Regions from separate parts of the Homo sapiens genome. Here region 2 is linked to region 1. The links are contacts of gene promoters, found by promoter capture Hi-C in blood cells and fetal thymus (Javierre and others, 2016). All regions are on one chromosome and are shown on one strand. Each heading gives the region's core, a stretch centred on a gene start or on the middle of the fragment in contact. The rest is flanking DNA. Distances are from core to core; before and after follow the strand shown.

Evidence for each region. Contacts are between HindIII fragments. The CHiCAGO score rates a contact against its expected background, and 5 or more counts as called.
Region 2: a contact is called between a fragment that was not itself captured here and the fragment with the promoter of PPFIA2 in region 1, in 1 of 17 cell types (neutrophils). The highest score is 5.6, in neutrophils.

The regions. Positions count from the first base shown.
Region 1 is chr12:81,757,822-81,765,045 of GRCh38, forward strand. PPFIA2 (PPFI scaffold protein A2) reads right to left here and starts at 1,529. Exons shown (of 33, transcript NM_003625.5): 1 at 1,459-1,529; 2 at 579-686. RefSeq lists an enhancer at 389-1,327. The HindIII fragment of the contact is 5,625 bases long and covers 1,089-6,713 here.
Region 2 is chr12:81,995,724-82,001,952 of GRCh38, forward strand. No RefSeq gene overlaps it. Among named protein-coding and RNA genes, the nearest start is that of LINC02426, 45 kb to the left of the region's middle. The HindIII fragment of the contact is 4,069 bases long and covers 1-3,590 here.

The DNA of each region.
Region 1 (7,224 bases), core at 279-2,778:
CTAGGAATTCGGCCCTACTAGAGGTAAGAATGTAATTATTATCCATAGTGAGTTTCTTCTGAAAACATTTAGTCTTAAGAACCATCCCAGCTCCACCTCAGTTAACCTACAAGGAGTAATTCAGTGAGAGAAATCCTAGCCATTGTCTGATTACATTACATGAATATTCTCCCTCCTATTTAACTCTTTGAAAGCCTCTGTCCTCGGGAAATATGATTATCACCTTTAATGGACACATTTTACACTTTCTTTACCCTAGTGCATTTACGGACAGCCAGAGCCAGCTCAACCCACACTACTGGACAGTTATCTCTCAGCCACACCCCCCACCACCTTGAAGAAGTTGACTTCATCATTTCCACACTAAAATTGTTCATCCTGCCCAACAGGACACAGCCAAGTAGGCAGGAGGTAGAGAGATAGGAGATGGAGAGGATGAGGTGAAAGCAAAAGGCACCTAACGGTAATCAACAAGGAGGAATTTGCATCTCATCTTCCCTGGGGGCGGGGTGGGGCCGGGGAGGTGGTCAAAAAATACAGCGAAAGGAGACAGTAAAACTCAAAGACAGCTTCTGTACCTAATGTCTGTGATTTCGGGTCCTTGCTTCTTCAATTGATCAATGACAACCGCAGTCTCCGGCTTGAGGAGAAGGGAGGCTCACACCCAGCACTCCTGGACCATTTCCCTAGCAACGGGAGGAGAAAGGCAGCTCAGACACACGCGTGCCCCGGCGCCCTCCCGGAACGTGCCCCGGCCCGGTGGCGTGGCAGGAGCTCGGCATCTTCCCGTGGCTCCGTCAGCAGCCAAAAGGAGAAGCGTCCATCGGAAAAATGGCATATTACAAATTTTGCTTTGGGAAGCAAAGCTCGGTTCAGACCATTGTCAAAGGAGGAGAGGGGGAGGCGGCTCTTAAAGCAGCCGCGGCCCCTTTGCCAGAACAGCCGCAGCTCCCCGCGTGCAGCTGGAGCCCCGGGGCGGAGACCGGAGACCGGGGACTGGGTTTGACTTTCAGAAACTTAACCACGCGGCGCCGCTCCCCCTCCGCGCCCGGGCCACCCGGGGTGTGTGGGGCGTCCCTCCAAAAGAAAGCTTGGAGAAAAGGCGTGAGAAGTATCTGGGAGAGAAGTTCTCCACCCAGTCTCCCCTCCTGGAGCCCCTCTGGAGTTTAAGGCTAACCCTGGGAGTTAGAAACCTAAAGGAAAACGAGTCCCTAGGGATGCAAAAAGCAGGACAGGTCTCCTCCTGGCCCCCAGCCTGTTTCCGCGCGCTCCCGTGTCTCGTTTCACTTAAAGGAGGCGCTTTTTCTCTGGAAAGGCAAACATCACCCCACGCCGTCCCCCGGCCCCCCTTCCCTCCCCCCCGCCGCCCCCCCGCCGCCACAGCACACACACCCATTTTTCTCCTCCCGGCCTTTCTGCAAGCCTCTTTGCTTGCTTCAATTGGCCGGAAGAACCAACCTGCTGGCAGCCGGTGAGGACGCTACAGCATCTTCTCTCCTCACTTGCCTCGTGCGGTGGCTGCTACTCCTCCTCCTCCGTCTCCTCCCCTCCTCCTCCTTGGCAGCCACCACCTCCTCTTCCTCTGGAACAAGGGCTTCCCCTGGAAGCTGCTGCAGTGGTTTCCACCGGCCCTTAAATAAATTCTGAAGTAATCACGTCTTTGCTCTCCTCCTCACGCACACGCGCCCGCGGATACACTCGTCTCCCCCAGAGCCGCTCCCGGGCTGCCGAGGCTCGCTCTGCTCCCAGTGCCCCCTGCGAAGGCGAGGGCCAGGGATGGGCAAAGTGGGAAGGGGGCACACGCTTCCCCGCCTGGGCTTCTTTCACACAATGGGCTCTACAGCCTTCGCTTGTGTCAGCCTGCGCTGGTGGGGATGGGAACGGACTTGGGCACCTTTTGGCTCCCCGGTCTTCTGTGCTTGTCATTTCTTTAAGCAGCTTTCTTCCCACTGGGCCAGGGCATGGTAGTCATGGTTGTAGGGACCTGAGCCAATCTAGGGTGTGGCGGCATCTGTCATTTCTCATTACCTCTTCAGTTCTTCTTCATTCATATTGTTTTGGTAATGGGAATTGTATGTTAAGTATTCCCTGCCCGAGTAAATTTTAGCTTTGAGCAGAGTCTGGTCTCTCCATCGCGCTCCAGTCCCCCTTATATCTCCACCTCCCTTTACCTACCCTCTTTTCTTTCCGTTGCTGCTGTCCATTCATACAGACTGAGGAAGCAGGAGACAAAATCAGTACCTACTCTGAGCAGAAAGGGAACGTTTCTGTGAGGGAGAGTCACGAATCCTGCTGGGTTTGGTGAAAATGAAGAGGACATGCATGAAGGAATTGGAGGATTAAACACTGAATATATTTTGGGGGTTACTGAAAATATTCTGAGTGTGCTACACGAAAGCCAAAAGACGTGTTTTACTTTTGTGTAACGCCAAGAGTCCAAAGTTAACAAAGAACTAGTATGTAAATAACTGTTCACTTAAAATTAACTACAATATCCAAGAAACAATCTTTGTTTCTGAGGGAAGTATTTAATTCAGTTAGCGACTTTACAATGGAAAGTGGGGTAAAGCTCATGTATTTACCCAACTTCTATTCTAGACTGTTATTTAAATTTTACAACACAACACAATCCTATAAGAAGTATAAAAATAATACGAAAATTCATTAGATGTCAACTGGAGCACTATTTCTCAGACATAATGTGCATACAGATCATCCATGGATCTTGTTAAGTTGTAGATACTGATTCACCAGGAATGGGGTGAAACCTGAAATTCTACCCTTCTAATGACTCCCAGATGGTACTACACTTGAGGAGGAAGGGTCTAGACCACCCAATCGACCCACAATTTGATGTGGCTTAAATACCCCTAACTACAGGAAACTCTTCACCTCACAGGATAGCCTAGTCTATTTTCAGACAAACTTCATATTGTAATAGCTTCAACATACTAATCATATATCAGTACTCATAACTTTCACTCTCTAGAATTCTACACAAAACATAAAAATTCCTTATACATGAGAGATATTCTTATTTTTACATATAGCTATTATGTCTATTTTTACAAGAATTCCTTCCTTATTAAACCTTGGTTTGAATTTCCTTGGCAATCAACGTTTGTTAATTACTGGCTCAGATGTTCCTACTGTTTCCAAGAAGAGTTTTGATTTCCTTGAGTCCCATTCGTATGTCAAATACAAGTTTTAATTGTAAGTATAATCCCCACATACAGTTGACACAGCATAGTTAAAGGCTAACCCATGGTAGGTATCGCAGAAAGAAAAACTTTGATAATGGGAGGCAGAAAAAAATATCACGAGTTAAAGGATATTTTGTTAAGAAGATACAGTCTTCATAGTAAATTTCAGCTGAAAAACTTGACATTATCACTGCTAACTTCACTGCAAAGAGTGTAAATAATATATTAAAACTGAGAAAGACTGTTTAAAGTAGCAATTTTGCATGAGGCATTAGGTGAGCCGATTCACATGAGAAGAGTTACCACCTGCACCAGTTTCTCTAGTTTAGGCCCTTAAATTTAGCATACAAGAGACACTCCAGAAGGGCTTGTTACAACACAGATTGCTGGGCCCTATCCTTCGAGTTTCTGATTCATTACATCTGATTCATTACGTGCCTATTAAGTTCCCAGGTGGTACTAATATTGCTAGGTCAGGGATCCCACTCTGAGAAACACTGTGTAGATACATCTGGAGAAATTTGGGAACAAAAGAAGCACAGAGCAAAAAAAAAAAAAAAAAAAAAGAACAGGGAAATATTTTTTATTCAAAGAAAAAACATCCCCCATACTAATATAAATCTGACTCTACTGTTTTTGATGCCCAATGAATTATTAAGATGAGATATGCTTGTCTCCTGAATAGTCAACCAGATTTAAGTAGAAGTAGTGAAAGCCATTATTAGTCTTAGTGCCTAATATCAATCAAAGTAGTCCACACCAGAATATAATATTATAGTAGCCACATGTACTAATGCTTCTTCTTAACATTTTATTTTAATTATGAGTTTTTTTGTCTATACACTCCTGTGATGGTTAATACTAAGGGTCAACTTGATTGGATTGAAGGATGCAAAGTATTGATGCTGGGTGTGTCTGTGAGGGTGTAGTCAAAGGAGATTAACATTAAAGTCAGTGGGCTGGGACAGTAAGACCCACCCTTAATCTGGATAGGCACCACCTAATCAGTTGATAGCGTAGCTAGAATATAAAGCAGGCAGAAAAATGTGAAAAGACTAGACTGGCCTAGCCTTCCAGCCTACATTTTCTCTTGCACTGGATGCTTCCTGCCCTCGAACATTGGACGCCAAATTCTTCAGTTCTTGGACTGGCTCACCTTACTCCTCAGTGTGCAGACAGTCTATTGTGGGACCTTGTGATCATGTGAATTAATACTTAATAAACTCATATATATATATGTGTGTGTATATATATATATATATATATATATATATATATATGTCTCTAGCAGGACAGAAGTATATATATATATGTGTGTGTGTGTGTGTATGTCTCTAGTGGGACAGAAGTAATAGGATGTGTATATGTACATATATATACGTATATATGTATATATACGTATATATATGTATATATGTTCACACCAAGACTATCAGTGTTCTCCATACTATTATAAGTAGAGTCCTTAGCATTTTGGGGTCTAATCATATTAAGCAGCCAACTCTAGAAGCTCCAAAACCAATAAAATAACTCCATTCTTAATATTTTGTTCCTCTAAAACCACTCTTGGTACCAAAATCTGTATTAATCAGGGTTCTCTAGCGGGACAGAAGTAATAGGATGTGTATATATGTATATATACGTATATACACAGGATTTCCTGTAAGTAAAGGTGCCAGGTGTCTTGCCAGGTGTCTACTGTTAAAGTGATGTTATTGACTGGAAAAGAATAGGACCGCTCAACTTGGAATGGGGATCTCTGGAGGGACCCTGATAAAGCAGGGGACACTGAGTTTGTGAACTCTGATGAATCTTTTTTGCCAGAAAAACAGCTTCTCCATCCCCAGTAGTGGCAACATCCACTCCCTGACCCATGATGCAGTCAGCCTTTCCATCTTTGTCTGAGGAGATGGAAGCTGCACTGCCTGAGGCAACAGTGATGGCCTACCCTGAGGCAGCTGCCAGGCAAGATAATGTTGATTTTCCTCAGAAGCCACCCCCAACGCCCATTTGCTTCTAGACCTATAACTGGACTAAAGCCCCAGGGGGCCCCTAGAGGTGAGGTTGAGAGCATGACCCATAAGGAGGTGTGCTACACTAGAAAAGAACTGCCTGAGTTTTCTAATTTATGTAAGCAGAAATCTGGAGAACAGGCATGGGAATGGATATTAAGGGTTTGGGATCATGGCAGAAGGAACATAGAGTTGGATCAGGCTGAGTTTATTGATTTGGGCTCACTAAGTAGGAACTCTGCATTTATTGTTGCAAGTTGGGGAGTTAAAAAAGTTCTAATAGTTTATTTGCTTGGTTAGCTGAAATATGGATTAAAAGATGGCCCACTGTGAGTGAGCTGGAAATGCCTGATCTCCGTAGGTTTAATGTAGAAGAAGGGATCCAAAGGCTTAGGGAGATTGGGATGGTGGAGTGGATTGGTCACTTTAGACCTACTCATCCCAGCTGGGAGGTCCAGAAGATATACCCTTGACCAATGCTTTGCGAAATAGATTTGTGAGGGCAGCATCTGCATCTTTGAAGAGCTCTGTAATTGCTCTTCTCTGTATGTCAGATCTAACAGTGGGAACTGCAGTCACTCAACTACAAAATTTAAATACAGTGGGAATAATTGGATCCTAAAGAGGGGCCAAGTGGCAGCATTCAACCATCAAAGGCAAGGTGGGCCTGGCTACCATAATGAACAGCAGAGGCAAAGCAGCAATCAGAAGAGTCTGACTTGTGTAAGGCTCTGACATTGGCTAACTAATCACGGTGTTTCTAGAAGTGAAATTGATAGGAAGCCTACTGCATTCCCACTTAATTTATACAAGCAGAAAACTTCCAGGTTGAATGGACAAAAGACTAATTTGAATTATAAAAACAGAGAATCATGGTCCCTCTATCAATTTCCAGACTTGAGCCAGTTTACAGACCAAGGACCCCTTGAATGGAGGGGAGGCCATGTCCCCTTGAGGAAGGACCCCACTACACTACCGACAATTTATGCTGTTAATCTTTCTCCCATCCTCTCCCAAGGAGAACTCTGGCCTTTTACCAGAGTAACTGTGCAATGGGGAAAGGGAAATGATTAGACATTTTGGGGACCACTGAAGACTAGCTTGAGCTGACATTGACTCCAAGGGACCCAAAATGTCATTGTGGTCCTCCAGTTAAAGTAGGGGCTTATGGAGGTCAGGTAATTATAGGAGTTTTAGCTCAGGTCCAACTTACAGTGGGTCCAGTGGGTCCAGAGACTCATCCTGTGGTCATTTCCCCAGTGCCAGAATGCATAATTGGTATAGACATACTTAGCCACTGGCATAACCCTCACGTTGGCTCTGTGACTGGTAGGGTGACAGCTATTATGTTGGAAAATACCAAATGAAAGGCGTTAGAGCTGCCTCTACCAAGAAAAATAGTACATCAAAAATAGTATTGCATCCCTCCTGTTCAACTCTCCTATTTGGCCTGTGCAGAAGACAGATGGACCTTGGAGAATGACAGTGGATTATCATAAGCTTAACTAAGTGGTGACTCCAATTGCACCAGATGTGGCTTCATTGTTTGAGCAAATTAACACATCTCCTAGTACCCGATATGCAGCCATTGACTTGACAAATGCCTTTTTCTCCATTCCTGTCCATAGGGCCCACCAGAGGCCATTTGCCTTCAACTGGAAAGATGAACAATATACCTTTACTGTCCTACCTCAGGGGTATATCAACTGTCCAGCTTTGTGTCATAATCTTATTATTGGAAAAGAACTTGATTGTTTTTCGCTACCACAAGATATCACACTGGTCCATTACCTTGATGACATTGTATTGACTGGATCCTGTAAGCAAGAATTAGCAAACACTGGACCTATTGGTGAGACATTTGCTTGCCAGAGGATGGGAAATAAATTTAACTAAAATTTAGGGACCTTCTACCTCAGTAAAATTTCTAGGGGTCCAGCGGTGTGGGACTTGTTGAGATATTCTTCCAAGGTGAAGAATAAGTTGCTGCATTTGGTCCCTCCTACACC
Region 2 (6,229 bases), core at 306-2,805, 240 kb after region 1:
TTGACCATACAAATGGTAATAGAGGTAAAACAGATACACAGGCCTCCAAAGCTGCATCAAAAGATGTAAAATTTCTTTGATCTTAACATCTTAAGTGAAGGTCCGATAAGGAACACATTACTCTATAATTTCCTTAAGAGTAGGATGAGCATGAATGAGCACCTGTCTTTTTTATTGTTTTATCCTGACCACCTAGTTGGGTTAAACATAGAAGATGTACAATAAAAATATGCCACATTATTTATAAATGTATGTAGTGGTTCAGAGATGCCAACTCCAAATAAGTGGGAAATGATTTTTTATGGATTTATTTTGAGATTTAAAAAAGTCAGATTCACTTCTATTCATGCTAAAGATTTAATGAATGGACTATAAAAAGATGTTTAAGACAATTCTACTTTCGATTTTTAGCAATTTCAATAACATGCCTTTTGAAACTGAAGGCAAAATATACCTTCTTGCAGAAATACATGTTATTGGAATTTTTCACAGATTGCTGAAAGCTCTAAGGGCTGAGATATAGTATTAGTTATCTCTTCCCTAGCACTCTTAACTGAAATATTCAGGTGCTCTATAAGAGTAGGGTTTTTGGGTGTTGTTTATACCATTCTGGAATGACTTAGTGGTGATAATTGCAAAATATTGTGAATACACCAAAAATCACTGATTTTACACTTTAATATTGTTAATGTGTTGAACTTTATGTTATATGAATTTTATCTCGATTTAAATAAATGAAAAACAAAAAAGTGATTTGAATGGAGAAGGCATTTTATTAAAATTTTGTAGTTAATTCTTATATTTAAAACAATTCCAACTTTAAAAAATTGCCTGCCAATTGATTAATAAAATAATAAGATGTGGCAGCCACTCACTCAGCGCCTCCTCTGGAGAGAGCATAATTGACACACACATCCAGCTACTATGTCTTTGAATTTCTATCTAGTCAGCAACTATATTAGTCTGCTAGGGCTGCATAACAAAATACTACAGACTGGGTGGTTTAAACAACAAAAATTTATTTTCTCACAGTTCTGGAGCCTGGAAGTCCAAAATTAAGGTGCCAGCAGGGTTGGTTTCTGGTGTGGCCTCCCTCATTCACTTGCAGACTGCACCTTCTCATTGTGTTCTCACATGGCTTTTCTTTTGTGGGATGTACAGAGAGGGAAAGAGAGAGAACTCTGGTGTCTCTTCCTCCACAGATGAGGACAACAGTCCTTTCATATTAGGACCTTACCTTAAGATTTTATTAAAACTTAATTATATTCTGAAAATCCCTATCTCTAAATACAGTCACACTGAGAGTTAGGATTTCTAAATATGAATTTTGGAAAGGCACAATTCAGTGTATAACAGCTCCAGACATCCCAGTGTGGCACTATTCCTCAAGGGACCAACTGACCACATGGTGGAAATCAACAGCATTGGGCCCTTTCCATCCTGAGAAGGGCAGTGGTTGATTCTCACAGGGTTAGACACCTACTTAGGATGTGCATTTGCCTTTCCTGCTTGCTGTGACTCAGTTGCCACCACCAGCCTGAGGCTATTGATACAGACATACCCAAGACTTGGCAATTAAAAAAAAAAACAGGTTTAATCGACTTACAGTTCCACATGGCTGGGGAGGCCTCACAATCATGGTGGAAGGCAATTCTCCATAAGAGCCCCAGCCCTGCAGCAAAATTCTGCCTGGGCATCCAGGCATTTCCATACATCCTCTGAAATCTAGGTGGAGGTTCCCAAACCTCAATTCTTGACTTCCATGTACTTGCAGGCTCAACACCACATGGAAACTGCCAAGGCTTAGGGCTTCCACCCTCTGAAGCAACAGCCCGAGCTGTACCTTGGCCCCTTTTAGTCACGGCTAGAGCAACTGGGACACACATCACCAAGTCTCTAGACTGTACACAGGAGAGGGGCCCTGGGCCCAGCCCATGAAACCATTTTTTCCTCCTAAATCTCCAGGCCTGTGATGAAAAGGGCTGCCATAAGAGTCTCTGACGTGCCCTGGAGATCTAACATTCAGCTCCTCATTACTTATGCAAATTTCTGCAGCTGGCTAGAATTTCTCCTAAAAAAAAAATGGGATTTTTTTTTTCTATCACATTGTCAGGATGCAAATTTTCCAAACTTTTATGCCCTCTTTCCCTTTTAAAACTGAATGCCCTTAACAGCACTCGAGTTACCTCTTGAATGCTTTGCTGTTTAGAAATTTCTTCCACCACATACCCTAAATCATGTCTTTCAAGTTCAAAGTGCCACAGATTTCTAGGGCAGGGGCAAAATGCTGCCAGTCTGTTTGTCAAAACATAACAAGAGTTACCTTTGTTCCAGTCCCCAACCAGTTCATCATCTTCATCTGAGACCACCTCAGCCTGGATTTCATTGTCCATATCATTATCAACATTTTGGTCAAAGCTACTCAACAAGTCTCTAGGGCGTTCCAAACTTTTCCACATCTTCCTATCTTTTGAGCCCTCTAAATTGTTCCAACCTCTGCCTGCTACCCAGTTCCAACGTCGCTTCAACATTTTTGGTTATCTTTACAGCAGCACCTCACTCTACTTGTACCAATTTACTGTATTAGTCAATTTTCACACTACTGATGAAGACACAACCAAGACAGGGAAATTTACACACACAAAAAGAGGTTTAATGGACTTACAGTTCCACATGGCTGGAGAAACCTCACAATTATGGCAGAAGGCAAGGAAGAGCAAGCCACATCTTACATGGAGGGCAGCAAGCAAACAGAGAGAGCTTGTACAGGAAAACTCCCCTTTATAAAACCATTAGATCTCATGAGACTCATTCACTATCATGAGAATAGCATGGGAAAGACCTGCCCCCATAATTCAAATACCTCCCTCCGGGTCCCTTCCACAACATGTGGGAATTCAGAGATGCCATTCTCTGGCATGGCTTTGCTGAATTTCTGATTTTTCTCTACCACTTATCAATGTCCAGAAGTTGAAAGCCAAGTTATCTTCATGGTGTATCCCTCTTACTGGTGTTCCCAATAGTGACAATACATTAGCCACCAGTGGCAAAGAATGCTCTCTATGTGGAGATTGTCCCACTGTGCCTCACACCACAGGATGTGAGCATATCTTCTGGTGTTTCTGTGCTAAAAGTAGTTTATTACTTGACATGTACTTTACTTGCCCTAAGGGTGGCACAGAAGTACATAAGTCTGCAGCCACTGAAATCAGGAATTGACATGTCAGAGGTAAATGCTTTTTGGAAAATAAAATTCCTTCCTCTGAGGAAAAAAATTCACTGTGTTTAAATTCTTAATATTAGTCATCCTAAGTACATCATTAATGTATCCTTTATAAGGAATGTGCTGCCTAGCCACTGACTTCTGTTCCTTTCAAGGCATGACTAAATCCTAATCACTGGAAACCATGTGATTCTAAATATATTATGTAAATGTTAACGTATTATGTTAATGTATTTGGGTGGGAACACAGCCAAACCATATCAGCATCCAACCAGCAGAAACACTTCACAGCAAGGAGATATGGGAGTAGTACCATGCCCATGGGATTGACTAGTCATAACACATCCCTCATCATCCAGAAATAACAAGCTTCATAGAACAATGGAATGACTGAAGCTCTAGCTTGGAGGCAACACTTGAAGAAGACGTGTGGGGGTAGGGCATCCTTCATGATGTTGTATGTGCATGAAATCAGGAAACTCTATATGATAATGTGTCATTAATAGGAAGATTGCGTGGGTCTGGGAACCAAGGGGTAGAAACATGACTGGCCCATCTTACCATGACCCTTACCATCACTACCAATGACTCCTTGGAGAATTTTTATTCCTGTTGAAGTCCACTCTGAAATCTGTATTGTTTGCTGTTCTAGTCCACAAAGGTCCTGCCAAAGGACACAGCAAAGGTCTCATTGAACAAGATATGCCTGCTATCAAGGAACTTTGGATTTCTTGTGCCCAAGAACAAGCAAATAAGAAGAGAAGTCATTGTTTCAGCAAGGATAATTGTGTTCATCAGAAGGAGGTAGGGATGCTGTTACACAATGGGGACAAACTGGAATACATATGGAACCCAGGTGTCTCTGGTATTCCCTAGCCCCTTAATAACTGTGATCAAACATATGCAGCAACTCCAGCCTAGGGAGGGTATAATTATCAAGAACTCAGACCCCTCAGAATGAAGGTTTGAGTCACACAATCCAGTAAGCCACCAAGGCCTGATGAGGTAGTATCTGAGGGTGCGGGGGATTCAGAATGAAGAGTGGAGGAGGACAGGTTGACTAGTTATTGCCTCTAGATCAATAGCAGGGATACAGCCTATTGTTCAAACTACTAACTTTCTTATTTTAGATGTCTCTAAAATCTAAAAGATTGTGGTATGACAGGCCTAGGCCTACAAGAACCATGGAGGAGCTGCTCCTGGAACATGCATGGAGGGATAGATGTGTGAAAACATATAAGGAGATGTTGACACAAAGTGTCTAGTCATAAAAGAAAGATAATAAGAGACTGCAAGAAAAGGAATAATGATTAACAATAGAGATTATAAGGGATTTTTACACAGTTATATATTTTTACTCCTTGTAAAATTGTCTAGAGAGAGCAAATATTTATGTAATTAAATAAATCCATGGAATAGAAATGTTTATAGAAAGATTGAACAGCACGTCCAAAGACCCATGGGCAGAAGAATTTTAGGTGAGGGGAAGGAAGATTCTAGGGGATAGCCCTAGGGCAAAATACTTTCCAATCTGCCCAGACTGTGATTCAGGCAAACAATAGATAGAGCAATGTCCACCTGGGTCCTCTGCTGAGAGGGTAGAAAATACTCTTCTTTCTCCCAGATGAAAGCTACAAAGTCCACCTATCATATTATCTGCATTCAAATCCTCATTCCACATTAACTATCGCTACGTTCTTTTCCTCAGTCTCCTTGTTTGTAAAATGGAACCATAGCTGCACTGCCATAGAAATTTGTTTTGGGAATAAATAAGATCAATGTGCTTAGAAAAGTGCCTGGCACACAATATAAACTCAATTCATGTTATCATTTTCTCATCATGGTTTTTCACAAATTATCTCATTACTTTGAAAAAAATATGAGGTTAAATTATGAAGTAGTTTTTCTATCAAATATGTGGTAAAACAGGAAAAAAGACAATAATACTGAGTTTGGAAGGCAATTTCATTCTAATGATTTTCTGGTTTATATAATCACATTGTGTAACTCCAGATTTCAGGGTTTGATGGTTTTGAAACAAACTTTAAAATAATATAGACAAGCAAAATCTATATAATTTTCAATTAAGAGATTCAACTGGAAAGTACTCAAGGTTTTCAAGTGTAACTGTTGAGATTTGACAAAGTGAAAGGTAAATCTTACAGAATGCCCTATTGTGCTATATAGTTGAGCTTTCTAAAACTAAGAGTGATATATTTCCAGGATTCCAATTTTCCATGGGAAAAACCCCACTATCACTGAGTGAAGAAGATTTTGGCACTCTCAGTCCTCATTATCCCAGCTGCTTAAGAGTAGAGGAAGAAGACCTTCCCAGGATGGCCACTCACCACCTTGGTAAAGCACCACTGAGATTCATATCTAGAATTGTCTCTGTAAGTCAGTGCACTTTTTTTTTCATTCATTAAAATAAGCAATGTTGATTGAGAACCGATTATAACAGAACAGGTCTGTCATAGAAACAGGAGATGAGGCAATCAAAAGACAAACTAGCTCACTCCTTCAAGGAGTTTACATTCATCAGAGGAAACCAAACAGTCAATAGGTAAACTAAGAAATAAACTAGTTGTTGTAATCAGTTTTATAACATAAATAAAAGAATAATGTGATGGAGAACGATTGCATGAGGTCACAGGAAAGTAGTCTAATATAGGCTAAATGTTCAGCAAAGCCCTCTTAAAAGGTGTATTTAAGCCAAATTTGAATAAGGAGAAAGAACTAGCCATTTAAAGATTCAAGGGGAAGGTTTCATGAAAGGGAGGAGTAAGTGCACATGTTTGAGAGGGAACAAATATTGGCTACTAGAAGAATAGAAGGAAGAACTCTATTAGTCCCAGATAACAAGGGACATAGTGCCAGGAGGTGAAGTCAGAGGAGGAGGTAGGTATCAGGCCAGGGAAGAATTACAAGTCATGACACTGAGTTAGAGTTTATTCTAAATGCACTGGGAAGCTATTGGAGGGTTCTAGGCAGTGGAAATGGTTTATC